2 separate regions of the Homo sapiens genome follow, and region 2 is linked to region 1. Evidence: promoter capture Hi-C in 16 types of primary human blood cells and fetal thymus (Javierre and others, 2016). All regions are on one chromosome and are shown on one strand. Each heading gives the region's core, a stretch centred on a gene start or on the middle of the fragment in contact. The rest is flanking DNA. Distances are from core to core; before and after follow the strand shown. Region 1 holds the start of CCN3 (cellular communication network factor 3). Region 2 has its middle 120 kb from the start of SAMD12.

Region 1 (6,580 bases), core at 316-2,815:
ACAAGAACACAATACAGTGAAGAAGCTATGTAAGATTTGGAGGGCATGTTCCAAAACCCAAGTCCTTTTCTAGTTCAGGCGATCTGGTTTCTCATGTATCTACTGTAGAGTGATGTCCTCATGGAGGCCTCTCAGAGCAAGAAGAAACCTTCAAGATCATCTAGTCTTGCCACTCATTTTATGGATGAGGAAAGAGGTGTGCAACTGTGAAGTGATGTCCCCAAGGTCCCCTGGCCATTTTTCCCAATGTTCAGTCATTTTGCGAGAACCTCCTTAGAGTTTCCTACTCCAGCAGCTTAGACTTAAAAAGAGAAAAAGTGTACTTTATGTTTTCCAACAGGTTAGCTGATCAAATTGGGAAGGGCATTAAGATTCCTTGACACTCAAGCATAATAAAATCATCAGTAGCTTAGAGAAAAAAGTAAAAGCCCTCCTGTCCAGAAAGGAAGGGACAATCTTCAACTACAATGTTGTATCATGTGAAAAATTGATCCCCGACTGATTACGTTTTAGAAGCCTGGATTGGCTAGTTGCCTGCATTTTATTTTACTTGCAGCCAGAAAAGGGTTACATAGTTATCCCAGGAGACTAGCAGCTGCTTTGGTTCAAATGGGACAATTACAGGTGTGAAAACAAACCTGCTGGGTTTTCCCCAACTGCAGTTTGGGAAACTGTGAGCGTGTGAGTAAACCCGAGCTTCCATCAGCCCCAAGTGGCCCCCTAGAAGTGTCCGAAGGAAATGACTTCACTGGCCCTTAACTCTGCGTGGCTCCCCCTTTGCTTAGATTCTTGTCTAGGAAGCCAAGTGAGGAATGCCTTTCACCCCCAGGGCAGGTTTCCTTTCTGGCTCTGGCGCTCCCCAAAGCCCCAAGTGCTCCCCAAACCATGCCTGACACACAGTAAGTGCTCTATACATGTCATTTATTGCATTATTATTATTTGCTTATCGCCCTCTGGGAAGGGGAATACAAAAGAGAAGGGAGGAAGCAGCTTCACTTAGCTGCAGGAGAAGAGGTCAAACAGCAGAGGGAGCAGGATTACCCGTGCAGATGCCAGTCTGGTTGCTGGGGTCCGCGCTGCGATCACAGTAGAGGCCACTGCTCTCGTCGCATGGCTCCAGATCTGAGCAGCTCTCGCCACGCTGGCGGGCACACACCAGACAGCATGAGCAGCCGTCCAGCACCGCGCGCACCCCGGGGGCGCAGGTCGGCGGCGTCGCAGGGCACCGGCCCGGGCACTGGGGAGGGCAGCGCTGAGTCGCAGCGACCTGAAGGCAGGCGAGACAAGGAGAAACCACTCAGCTGGGACAGAAGACGCAGTGAGCCCGGTGACCAAATGGGGGCCACCAAGGCGGGCAAAGTAACTTGGGGGCATCTTAAGGGTGTGCCACTTACCTGTCCCAGGAGATGGAGAAGCAGGAAGGTCAGGCAAAGGCACTGCTTTCGGAGACAAAAGCTCGTGCTCTGCACACTCTGCATGCTCAGGCTTTCCCCTCTCGCTTTTACCAAACGAGACTTTCTTCGCTGTAGATTGGCACTGCTCGCCTTCCCCCTGGTCCGGTGCTTGCCGATCACGCCCAGCACAGGTTTTATAGCGCGCTCCTGGGACGCGCACAAGCCGGTTGGCTGCAGTGCAGGGAGGAGGGGGGAGATCGGCTGGGTGGGGAAGTGGAACGAACCCCGGGGTTGCCATGGCAATTGGCTGTGGGTGCTGCTCTCCTTAGGGCGCGGCGCCGGGGCCTGCGTGTGCCTGTGTGTGGCGACTGGCTTTTCCCAGAGGGTGGGGAGGGGCTGGGTGGAGTTCCGAGGCCAGGACCCAGGGCTCGCTCGAGCGCGTGGGAAGGAAACGCCCGTTTCCTCCTGGAAGTTGCTTCGCCTTCTCCCAGGACGAAGACACCACCACTCCCCACCATCCTCCTCCACCCTGACCGTTCCAACCAGGGCTGCAAGCGTGGGGTCCCCTTACGGGATGCCTGCAGTTTGGGGCCATCTGCAGGGGATTGGCAGAAGGCCCAGGGGTTTAGTCATGAGGGAAGCACATGCAAGTTTGTCACCGTTTAGGGCACTCATTGAATGTGTTGAGAGGGAGGGGAGAGAAGCAAGGGAGGAAAGGAGAGAAAGAGGAGAAAGAGAAAAGTGTGTGTGTGTTGGGGGGAGGGGAGTGGCAGGGGGAAGGGAATCTAGAAAAAAAATCGATATGTCAGGAGGTGGGGAATGCTATTGGCCAAATGGCAAAATTCTTTTGACTCTAATCCTTCTAGCTTCACTCAGTCTTAAACCCCAAGGTCCACAGGTTTGTTAGAAATAAAAGTAAAACACACACACACACACACACACACACACACACACACACACATAAAGAAAACATCATAAAATAAAACAAAGAAATCTTGGCAGAAGAAAGCCTTGAAGCACCTGCTGTAGCAGACCAAATGTGAGACGGCACACCTGAGAGTCCAGAAACCTTTGACAGTTTTCTAAGTGGGTTCAGTTCAACCACCATCACCACCATCAAAACCTCCAGCCAGGGAAGAAATGAGGAAGAAACTGGCTTAACTTGGCTGACCCTTCAGCAAATCAAATCCTTCTCTCACCGGGCATCCGCTTTCAAGAAATGATTGCTGGGGCATGCTTGTCATCTCTCATGGGAAAAAGGGAGCAGTTTTACTGCTCCAAAGGTGACATTGTTTGAAGGATTTAGAACAGTTTCCCCCCACACTTCAACACTGGTGCTGCCCCTAGGAGAACTATGCCCAGCTCTTTTGAGGATAGTTGCTTTGGAAAAAAACAAAAAACACTTTTTAAGGAAAATTATACAGGCCTGTGATGTAATTCTAGAGTTTAAAAAGAAACAAATGGCCTCTACCTCATCTGTCCCCAGCATGAAGGAAATCAAAGGCAGCTTGCGGAAGGGGCCAGGTCTGCCTCTGCAACACCCGCAGATGATGAGGTCACCTCAAGCCCCTTCTAGATAATTCTCTCGGCAGCCTGAAACCACTATGACACACTTCCAAGCCTCTAATAGTTCTGCTTTCTTTGAGGTAAATGAGACTGAGTAGTACTCAAACTTAACTAGAGATGAAACAGTTCATTTGCACTCTTGAGTAGGACATTTACCTACTCTTCAAATTGATAGGCTTTGGAGGGTGGAGGGTGGGAGCAGGGAGAAGATCGGGAAAAATAACTAATGGGTACCAGGCTTAATACCTGGGCGATGAAATAATCTGCACAACAAATGTCCATGACACACATTTACCTGTGTAAACAAACCTGCACATTTACCCCTGAACTTGAAATAAAAGTTTAAGAAAAAGATAAAACAAAAAACAAAAAAACTGATAGGTTTTGTAAGCCATTTGGCCTAATGATGCCTCCATCTGGCTGCAGATCGAATCAACCAGCATGTATTTTGTTAAAAATACAGATTCCTGAGCCCCACTCTTGACCCACTCAGTAGGATTCTCTGGTGGTGGCTCTTGGTAGACAGCATTTTAATGTACTTTGAAATGGAGCAACTAGAAGCACTGCTAATGGGGAGGCAAAGAGCATCGGCCAAGTGTTCCAAGCATGAATAGACTCAGATAGAACAAGGAGAAATTGGCAACATGGAGATTGGGCTAGCTCTTCTTGGAAAGAGTGGGGTGGGAGTGGTGACAGGGAAAATGTAACTTTAAGACAAGGATTAACATGTCAAGAAGTCACTGCAAGTGTAAAATTGCTATTCAGTTTTGATTGCAAGAGATGGAAACCAAACTTGAACTAGTTTTTGCGAAAAGAGGACTTTACTGGAAGGATGCTGTGATGTTTCACATAGTGACAGCACAGGAATGGTACAGGGAGTCCTCAGAGGCAATTGGGATCTAGAGAGAGGAGGGCCAACAGGATTACTTCCACATAAGGGAAAAATGATCCTTCCAATCTTCTTACTTTATGACCTTATCACCACAGAAGGAATGTCCCTGTCTCTTAGGCCCAACTTTAAAAGTTCCAGGAATTAAATTGGATGGGTTCACCCTGGACTAATCAATGGGGACAAGGAAGGTGAAGTATGGGGATTAGTTAGAACCTCATGGTTGGAATGGAGAGAAAGAGCAGTTCTCTTGGGAAGAAAGGACTGTTCCTTAAAAAGAAAGCAAGCTTGGTGAGCAAAACAATACACATCCACTCCATCATCTGCTATAAATGCTCTAGGATGAGGATCTTCATCTTAAAACAATTGTAAATTGAAAGTGATACCATCTGATGATAATCATGTCATGTCATGCTTCACTGCCTCCAGGACATAGTCTCTGAAATCCTTCATGCCGGGATAGATGTTATCCGCAGTGCAGGCCTGGGATGCCGAGCTTATCTCTTTTATCTCATAACTCACTGGATAATCATTATAGTCACACCATTTAATGATGGGGATATTGTTGGAGAAATGTGTCCTTGGGTGATTTCATTGTTGTGTGAACATCATAGAGTGTAGTTACACAGATGCGGATGGTGTAGCCTACTACACACCTAGGCTGTATGATATAGTCTATTACTCCTAGGCTACAAACGTACAAACAGTACAGAATATACTGCACTGAATACTGTAGGCAACTGTAATACAATGGTAAGTATTTGTGATTTAAACATATCTAAACTTAGAAAAGGTGCAGTAAAAATATGGTATAAAAGATAAAAAATTGTCCACCTGTGTAGGGCACTTACCGTGAATGGAGCTTGCAGTGGGTGTCAGTGAGTCAGTGGTGGGTGAATGTTAAGGCCTTGGACATAACTGCACACTACTATAGCCTTTATAAACACTACACTTAGGCTAAGCTAAATTTATTCAAAAATTTCCTTTTTCAATGATAAATTAACTTTAGCTTACTGTAACTTTTTTACTGTATAAACTTTTAATTTTTTTAACTTTTCGACCCTTTTGTAATAACACCTACCTTAAAACACAGATACATTGTACAGATGTACAAAAATATTTTCTTTATATCCTTATTCTACAGGCTTTTTTTTTTTTTTTTTTTTTTTGAGATGGAGTCCCTCTCTGTCACCAGGCTGGAGTACAGTGGTGCAATCTTGGCTCACTGCAACCTCTGCCTCCCTGGTTCAAGCAATTCTCCTGCCTCAGCCTCCCAAGTAGCTGGGACTATAGGCACACACAACCACGCCCAGCTAATTTTTTGTATTTTTAGTAGAGACAGTGTTTCACCATATTGGCCAGGGTGGTCTCAATCTCTTCACCTCGTGATCCACCTGCCTCGGCCTCCCAAAGTGCTGGGATTACAGGCATGAGCCACTGTGCCTGGCCTCTATAAGCTTTTTTCTAGTTTTAATATTTTTATTTTTTTTTTTTTTGTGAAAAATAACACACAAACATACATATTAGCCTAGGTCTACACAAGGTCAGGATCATCAGTGTCACTGTCTTCCACTCCACATCCTGTCCCACTGGAAGGTTGTCAGGGGTAATAACACACATGGAGCTGTCATCTCCTCAGATAACAATGTCTTCTTCTGAAATACTTTCTGAAGGATCTGCCTGAGACTGTTTTATAGTTAACTTTTTTTTATGAGTAGAAGTATGCTCTAAAATAATGATGAAAAGTATAGTAAATACATAAACCAGTGACATAGTCACTTATTATCATCATCAAACATGGACTATACATAATTATATGTGCTATACTTTTATATGCCTGAAAGTGCAGTAAGTTTGCTTACACTAGCATTACCATAGACACATGAGTGTGCTACAATGTCATGACAGCTACTATGTCACTAGGCTATAGGAATTTTTCAGCTCCATTACAGTCTTATGGGACCACCATTGTACATGCCGTCCGTAGGTGACCAAAATATTGTTATGTAAGATGTGACTGTACTTGTCTGTTTTGGTGACTGCCTCCCTGTCCTGCCTGGGAGTCCTTGAGGACACAGAGCATGTCGTATTTACAGTAACATCCCCAACATCCACCTCAGGGTCAGGCAAGTGGTCAGTTCTTGGACCTTTTGAGATACTGCAAACTCCACTTTAAGTTTTGCCACTTTTCATTGCTCTGCATAAGATGAGATAAGAAACAAACTGGAGGCTGTTTGCTCTTCAGCAGCAGCTAAATTGGTCCTATCAGCCACCACCCATCAGCCTGTGACATGAAACTTCTCTGGGTCTTGCTTGGCACTAAAAGGATGGAATACAGGCTGGTGATCTTCTCCTGTTTGAAATAATCCATGTGGCAGTTGAGGTCTCTGGGAGAAGTCAGGGGATACCTTATTAGAGATTCTTTTTTGAATTGCTGGGCTTGGCAGCTAACCATGGGGTTATGAACTGCAAGGACTTTGGCCAATTTACTTTTCCCCCTTTAATTTTGTCCTCTCCTTTCATCCCCTCATCACAGATGTGACATCAGGGGCTCATTTTTGCCTTTTCTTTTTCACATAGCCTGTTAATTGATTTATATTCTTATTACTTCTCAGTCAGTACTCTTATCCAGAACACACTTAGAGAATTGCCTACATTTTCTAAAGGTACTATGTTGTTTTCAGTGCTATTGTGTTATCTTTCTTATTATTATGAAAAATTTAAAAAATTG
Region 2 (6,580 bases), core at 1,678-4,177, 680 kb after region 1:
GGCACTCTGACTTGGGGTATGTGGAATAACGTTTCTAAGAATGAATTTATGAGTAATTTTCTCTTGGAAAATTTTGTGCATTAAATGAGATAATGCATATAAGAGAACTTTGAAAATAGCTATTATTTATGATCTGGTTTTTAAAAGCAATTTGAGGGTTAAAAACAACATCTAGGAAATTAGGTTCTTACTTAGGAATAGAAACTCTGGTATATTGTCCAGTCCTATATATACAAAATTGAAAATAGAAGTGGGGAATGTAGGGAGAAACACTGCATAGTAGACTTAGGAAAATAAAAAAGCAACATAGCATCAATACGATGCTCACTTTTGTGAATATACTTGTAAGTTTTCTACGGAGACCTCTTAGGGTCCTGGAATATTGGCAGAAAAGAAAGAAGTTTGGCTTTCTGAACACACAGGAGGTGAGAGGTCCAACAATTTTCAGTTCCTTTAGAATAAGAGAAGTGGGTTCTGCCACAGTGATAACAAATGGATGCAGTCATCTAAAATATTTATGTTTGCACCCAGAGAAACTATAAACAGTTATTGGCGTCAGTTTGGATTCGTCAGCATGTGTTGTCAAAAAATAACTTTGATCTTAGAGAGAAAAGCAGCTGGAGCATCTTCAATCCCAGATGTGATCAGAGCCTGTCTACTGGATAATTTAAGAGAATTCTGCAGTCTGAACCAGCTTCAGAGAAAAGTGAGTGAGATTTACTTGCCATTTTTTCTTCGATGATGGTGAGATCTATTTAATAAGCTTGGGTAAATGCTCAAGTAAATGGTAGAATTTGGATCTGGGAAAAATCAGGCAAAACCACCAACCCCCATGACTGCTAGAGAGACCAGCACACTGAAAGGCAGGGGCCTGAGTCACTCATGGGAGAGCGGAGCTGATACCTTGACACCAGCTCTTCACACAAGAGCACGCACACAAGTGGGGTCGGTGGGAGAGAGATCAGTTCTTTACAGAAGATGAGTGACTGCCAAAGATGCAAATGGTGGCTGCCTAAGATGCCAATATGGCCAGCCACACTCACTGTTTAATAGGGTTGTTGTTAACATGAAATAATGCATGTGAGGCATTTAATACACTGTTTGGCATATAGTAAAAGTCTAACAAATATTGTTATTTTTATTATTCCTATTTTACAGCTGTTGAAGAGTGAGGATTATGAAAGTTTTTTTTAATTCTCAGAGATCAGAAAGTTGATAAGTTGCAAAGCCAGAATTTAACCCCTAGAACTTTTTCACTCAAAAGGTCATGCTCTTACCCATCTTTCTGATGAAGTGGTTTTTAAGTGACCTGTATAAGTCAGATTTCTCCAGAGAAACAGAACCACTAGGAGATAAATCTTAGAGAGAGAGAGATGAAGATAGAGATAGGTGTATAGGTATGAAAGGCATAGCTGTAGATAGATTTATTTTAAGGGATAGGCTCACAAATTGTGGGGGGTGGCAAGTCCAAAATCCGTAGAGCAGGATGGCACCCCAGAAATTCCAGTAAAAGTTGATGGTGCAGCCTTAAGGCTGAAGACAGTCTGGAGGCAGAATTCTTTTCTCTTCGAGGGACCTCTGTCTTTGGTCTCAAGACCTTCAACTGACTGGCTGAGGGCCACTCACATTATAAGGGTAATCTGCTTTACTCAGAGTCTACTGACATCTAAAAATACCTTCACAGAAACATCTAGATTGCTATTTTGACCCAACAACTGGGCACCATAGCCTAGCCATGTCAACACATAAAAATTAACTGTCACATGAGACAACAGATACAAAAGTGATGTGCACAAAGCACCAAGTGCTAGAAAAAAAGAAAATATGTTATTATTACTAAACGATAGGCCTAGTACTACCAGCATACTTTGCCTTGCTTTTCAATTCATTTTATGTTTTTGCTCACATTGGATGGAAAGGCTGAGGGAGCTGGTTAGTCTATTATAAACACGGACTCTAGAAAACCTGAGAAAGAGAATAAAGAGGTCACTGAAATTTTTACAGGCAAAACACAATTTCTGCCAATGCATAAATGTTTGCAAAGTGTTGCAAGATTACTCTATATGTCTTTAATTGCCATTCACACCTGAGGGTGAATAGCTCCTTAAATCACACAAAAAAATGAGTGTCCAAATTTCTATCATGATTCACCATTATTATGTTTATTTTAACTATGCTATTAAAGTTAAATTTGTGAATTTTCCTCCTCCACAATCTTTCAAAACTTCTGTTGGTGACAGGACAAAATAACTAATTGAATTAGACAGCACCATGCAATTAGGGATGCCTAAGCCTCACCATTCCTACATTATTTTCCTGGAATTTGAAACTTTTGAAGGTTTACTCAAACCAAGAAACAAAATAATGATTGTACAAGAAGTCCCAAATATACTTTAATGAGCTGACAAAGAAATTCATATTATCTGTCTGAAATAATAGAAGGTGTTTGAGAGTGGTTTACTGCAGAGTAGGGCTAAACTGCTCATCCTAATACTCCAAAAACAGAGGAAATTTTGCTTTGTTAATTGTTGCAAAAGGTGCCATTTTAAAAAAATTATCACAGAGCTTATGGCATTGGTGAAGTAGAAATAGCAACTGGCTTTCAGAGATACAAGACATGAAGTTGCCTCCGGCAGCCTAATAATTTGAAAGCCCTTTAAGCCACTAGTCCTAAAATAGGTTTAACTATGTGTTTGGAGAAGATTCGGAGCTCTGCCTAAAGAAAGGAGGTCATTGGAGCGCCCTGGCCAATTTAGTTCTGACCCTCTAACTTGCATCCTCATTCAGATGAAAAACAGAAGCCCTGAACTGAACTAGACTCCCTTTCTTAAAAGGCAGCTTAGTTAAACACAAATTGTTACCCCAGTTTTCTCATTAAAACAGTCCCCCAAAATAGCTTAACAAAAATCCTATTCAATCACACACATTATTTTCCTGGCAAGAGTTCAGCTAGATGCTATTTTCTCCATCTAATTCTCTCCCCAAAGCTGTTTTAGCAACGTATATTAGTCAGGGTTTGATCAGAGAAGCAGAACCACTAGAAGATTTATATAATAAGAGATTTATTATAGGTATTTGGTCTTAGATGATTGTGGGCTAAAGAATCTATTGAGCTATAGCTTCTGCAGCTGGGAAAGTCAGCTGGGGCTGGCAGTTGGGCATGGAAGAATGTGAAATGGAAGCAAGCTCAAAAGGAACCCTGCAGGGCTGGGCTGGAACCTGTGAGAATGGATGAGAATCTGCATGGGACTCTCACTGCCTCTGAGCCTTTCACTTGGATGATGGGAGTGAAATGAAGGAGGAGTGGCCCCCTTTGTCACAGAGCTAAACCTACACCTGACCCATGAGTCAGAAAAACTAAGAGGGCTGGAGTTCTACATGCCCACAGGTAAGCCAGCAAAGAAAAGACAACATGCATTAGAGACAACAACATTTCATGGCCTGGCTGACACTGACCTCTTGGACATAAAATAAAAGGAATGTCACTGCTGTTTCACTTCCACCTTTTCACTCTTGTTCAGAGCATCTTTTGTGGTTCACCCATCCTGGCGCTATATATGGAAGGGAATTCTGGGACCATCAGTTCCAGGTTAGCAAAACTGATATACTATGAATCCATCACATACCCCCAGGAAAATGTTTGGCTGGTCCATCTACAGATTCAGCTATCAGTTAAAAAGAAGTTTTGTGACATCAGGATGTAAGAGAGACACAAGAGAATATTAACACTGGAATGACCTCAGAGTCAGCCCATCCCGAATTTTACAAATGAGTGAAAATGAAATCCAGGAAGGTGTGGAAACTTGTCTCAGGTCTCATAGTTGCCCAGAGGTAGTACAAGAAAGCCGTTTGCCTGCCTGCTAAATCATTATCTGTAAATCCAGAGAGATACATGAAGAAGCAGAAATTCCCAGATAAGCCTACCCCTGGTCAGACACACTCAGGGTCCTTGAAGCTGCATTTAGGAACATGTGAATATGTAATAAACGTGTGGCCTCAATTGCCTCATTTAAAATAAATTCTCAGTAATAATATTCTCAGTAGAAATTAAAATTGTTTTTTAAATTTTTTCTCAATTATTTTAATTTGTGGTGCCCTTATGTAAAAAGGTAGCCTAAATACAATTAAGGTTTAGGTTAAATTAAATTTGATATTCTAAATCTTAGCCATAAAAAAGAGGTATTTTACATAACATTAGGAACATAGTTCTTGGATTCATATAGCCCAAACTTCAAATATGAGCCCAACCACTTGCGAGCAATTGGGCTGGCAGCAGGTTCCCTAAACTTTCAGAAATTATTTCTTTTTTTTTTTAAGTAGAAATTAAAGTGTTTTAGGACTAAATGAGATAATTCATATATAACATTTACTACAGTGACACAGGAATAGAAAAGGCATCAATATAGGAGCTATTAATTATTATCATTATTATTGTTGTTATAAATGACACCATTAGTAAGGGTGTTACAGTAAATCATATCCATAATTAATTACTATTAATTAGTATTATTGATAGTAATTAATCACTAAGAGTATATTAGACCTAAAGCACTGAATGCGATGCAAAATAATTTTTACATTTCTTCCTGAAAGAATAATTTATGTGATTCCTTCAATAGGTCATATTAATGAAACTAGGGTTTAATATAAAAATAACCTGATTTTATCACCATATGCCTTGAAGTCTATCAGATCTCTCAGTATGAGAAGTGTTAGGCAAATGTCAAGCCTAGGCTTTAGGATGAGAAATAGGAATTGTGTGAAATTACATGTATATCTTTGCCAACATCCTACCTGTAGCTATTTATCTTCTTTCCATTGTTTAGATTCCTCCTTGAAATTAAGAAATGCTCATCAAAACATAACTCTGCTGATCCAGTAGACTCTCTTCAACTGATCTTGGCCACAGATCAAGGTGCTGTCTGCATAGCCTTTTAACACGGGAATAATTTATTCTGAAGTTGTTGGGCCCCATCATTGACAGTCAGCACTTTTGTCACTATGCAAACAAAAGTGCACTGATGTTTATTTAGAAAACATTTCATCCAGGGCTCTACAAATTGGCTGTTTCACAAAGATTTCCAAGCTTATTTGATGTCATCATCTAGTGCCATGCAGGTTGTTGACAAACATGAGATCAGTTGAATTCAACTTCAGATAATTTATCCCTTCCAGAGTTCCACTGCTATTTTGACCAATTTTTCCTATTTTCTATTCACAATACTTACTCTAGCTCTCACTTCAATGTGTAACAGCCTACTGGCTTTAAATATCAAAGACTTATTTATCTTCTGTGTTATATATCCATTACAAGTGACAGAGGTTTCATCTCAAGCTCATTTTAGTCATCCAGGCTCCCAGGTTGATGAAATGGGCACCATCTTAAACATTGCCAGTTGCTATGCCAGAGGAAAAAGAGAGCTCTACAGTCCTGCACCAGCAATTAAATGCTTGGCTTGAAAGTGGCATGAAATAGCTGAAGTAGCTTCTTCTAAGAAGTCATCGGCCAGAATGGTCACATGGCCCCATCCAACCAGGATAGGGTTTGAAAGTACAACTTTAACCAGAAGCGAATAAACCAGAAATACCTGAGGAAGTGCCCTAATGACTAACACATAGAATTTCTAAGATTTGAAACAGCAATTTTTTTTTGAAAAATTGTAACCTTGAGAAGGTTATTTACTTATTTTCTGCAAAAAACATTCAGTGGTAAGTCACAGGATATAATCATTCCATGAAAGGATTTGAAAATCACATAAGTGTGTAGCATATTGATTATGAACCTCAGATGCAAGCAAATTTCAGTCTAGGAGGTTCTCTAATAGAAAATCACCACAACACCCTAGAAATCACACTCACATGGAGAGTTACGTATTCCCCATCCCGCACCCCAATCAAGAACGAAGTAAAGACAACCTGGAGGAACAGGCCTATCCAAGAGTTCTGCAAAGAGCAAGACCTTCAGTTGTCAACAAACTGCTTCCATGATGATGCTTCTCAATTTGCAAAAGAAATTTGACCAATTCACTTAACTTAGATATAAGAATTCTAATTATTGGTCTTGGGACATACATGTTATGTGAATAATAACAGGTTAAGTCTGCACTAACAGTATCTACTAGCCGTACGTGTGGCTATTTTAACTTAAATATAAAATTAAATTAGTGTTCTTGAATCACACTAGCTACATTGTGAGTGCCCAATAGGCACATGGAGTTAGTGGCTACCGTATTGGAACAGCACAGGTAGCAAACATTCCCATCCAGGCAGAAATTTGTATTGGACAGCTCTGGTCTAAGTCTTTCACCTTTGCCTGTAGAAATAGTTTAATGTCCTCCATTTCCTAAAGCCATACTTTCAGAAGAACTAAGCTGATTTCTAACATCTCAAAGAACTAAATAGGAAGTCATATCTACAATAACGTAGGCTTAGAACACAAATAGCTTGGCTGGTTTTGGTCTCAGTTTGTTATGCCTTGTACCTTAGTTGCAGGAGGTACCTACAGTAGTGATTCCAGTTCAAAGCCATCCAAGCTAGAAAAGGAAAGCAAGACATCAGAAATCAGATAGAACTTAATCTC

The links. The method cuts DNA at HindIII sites, captures the fragments that hold promoters and counts their contacts. A CHiCAGO score of 5 or more calls a contact.
Region 2: a contact is called between a fragment that was not itself captured here and the fragment with the promoter of CCN3 in region 1, in 1 of 17 cell types (endothelial precursors). The highest score is 5.9, in endothelial precursors.

The regions. Positions count from the first base shown.
Region 1 is chr8:119,411,431-119,418,010 of GRCh38, reverse strand. It overlaps CCN3 (cellular communication network factor 3), which reads right to left and starts at 1,565. Exons shown (of 5, transcript NM_002514.4): 1 at 1,395-1,565; 2 at 1,042-1,267. The coding sequence starts at 1,478. It overlaps LOC124902009 (a long non-coding RNA gene), which reads left to right and starts at 1,702. Exons shown (of 2, transcript XR_007061077.1): 1 at 1,702-3,040. The HindIII fragment of the contact is 11,014 bases long and covers 1-4,138 here.
Region 2 is chr8:118,734,833-118,741,412 of GRCh38, reverse strand. No RefSeq gene overlaps it. Among named protein-coding and RNA genes, the nearest start is that of SAMD12, 120 kb to the right of the region's middle. RefSeq lists an enhancer at 2,997-3,510. The HindIII fragment of the contact is 4,323 bases long and covers 766-5,088 here.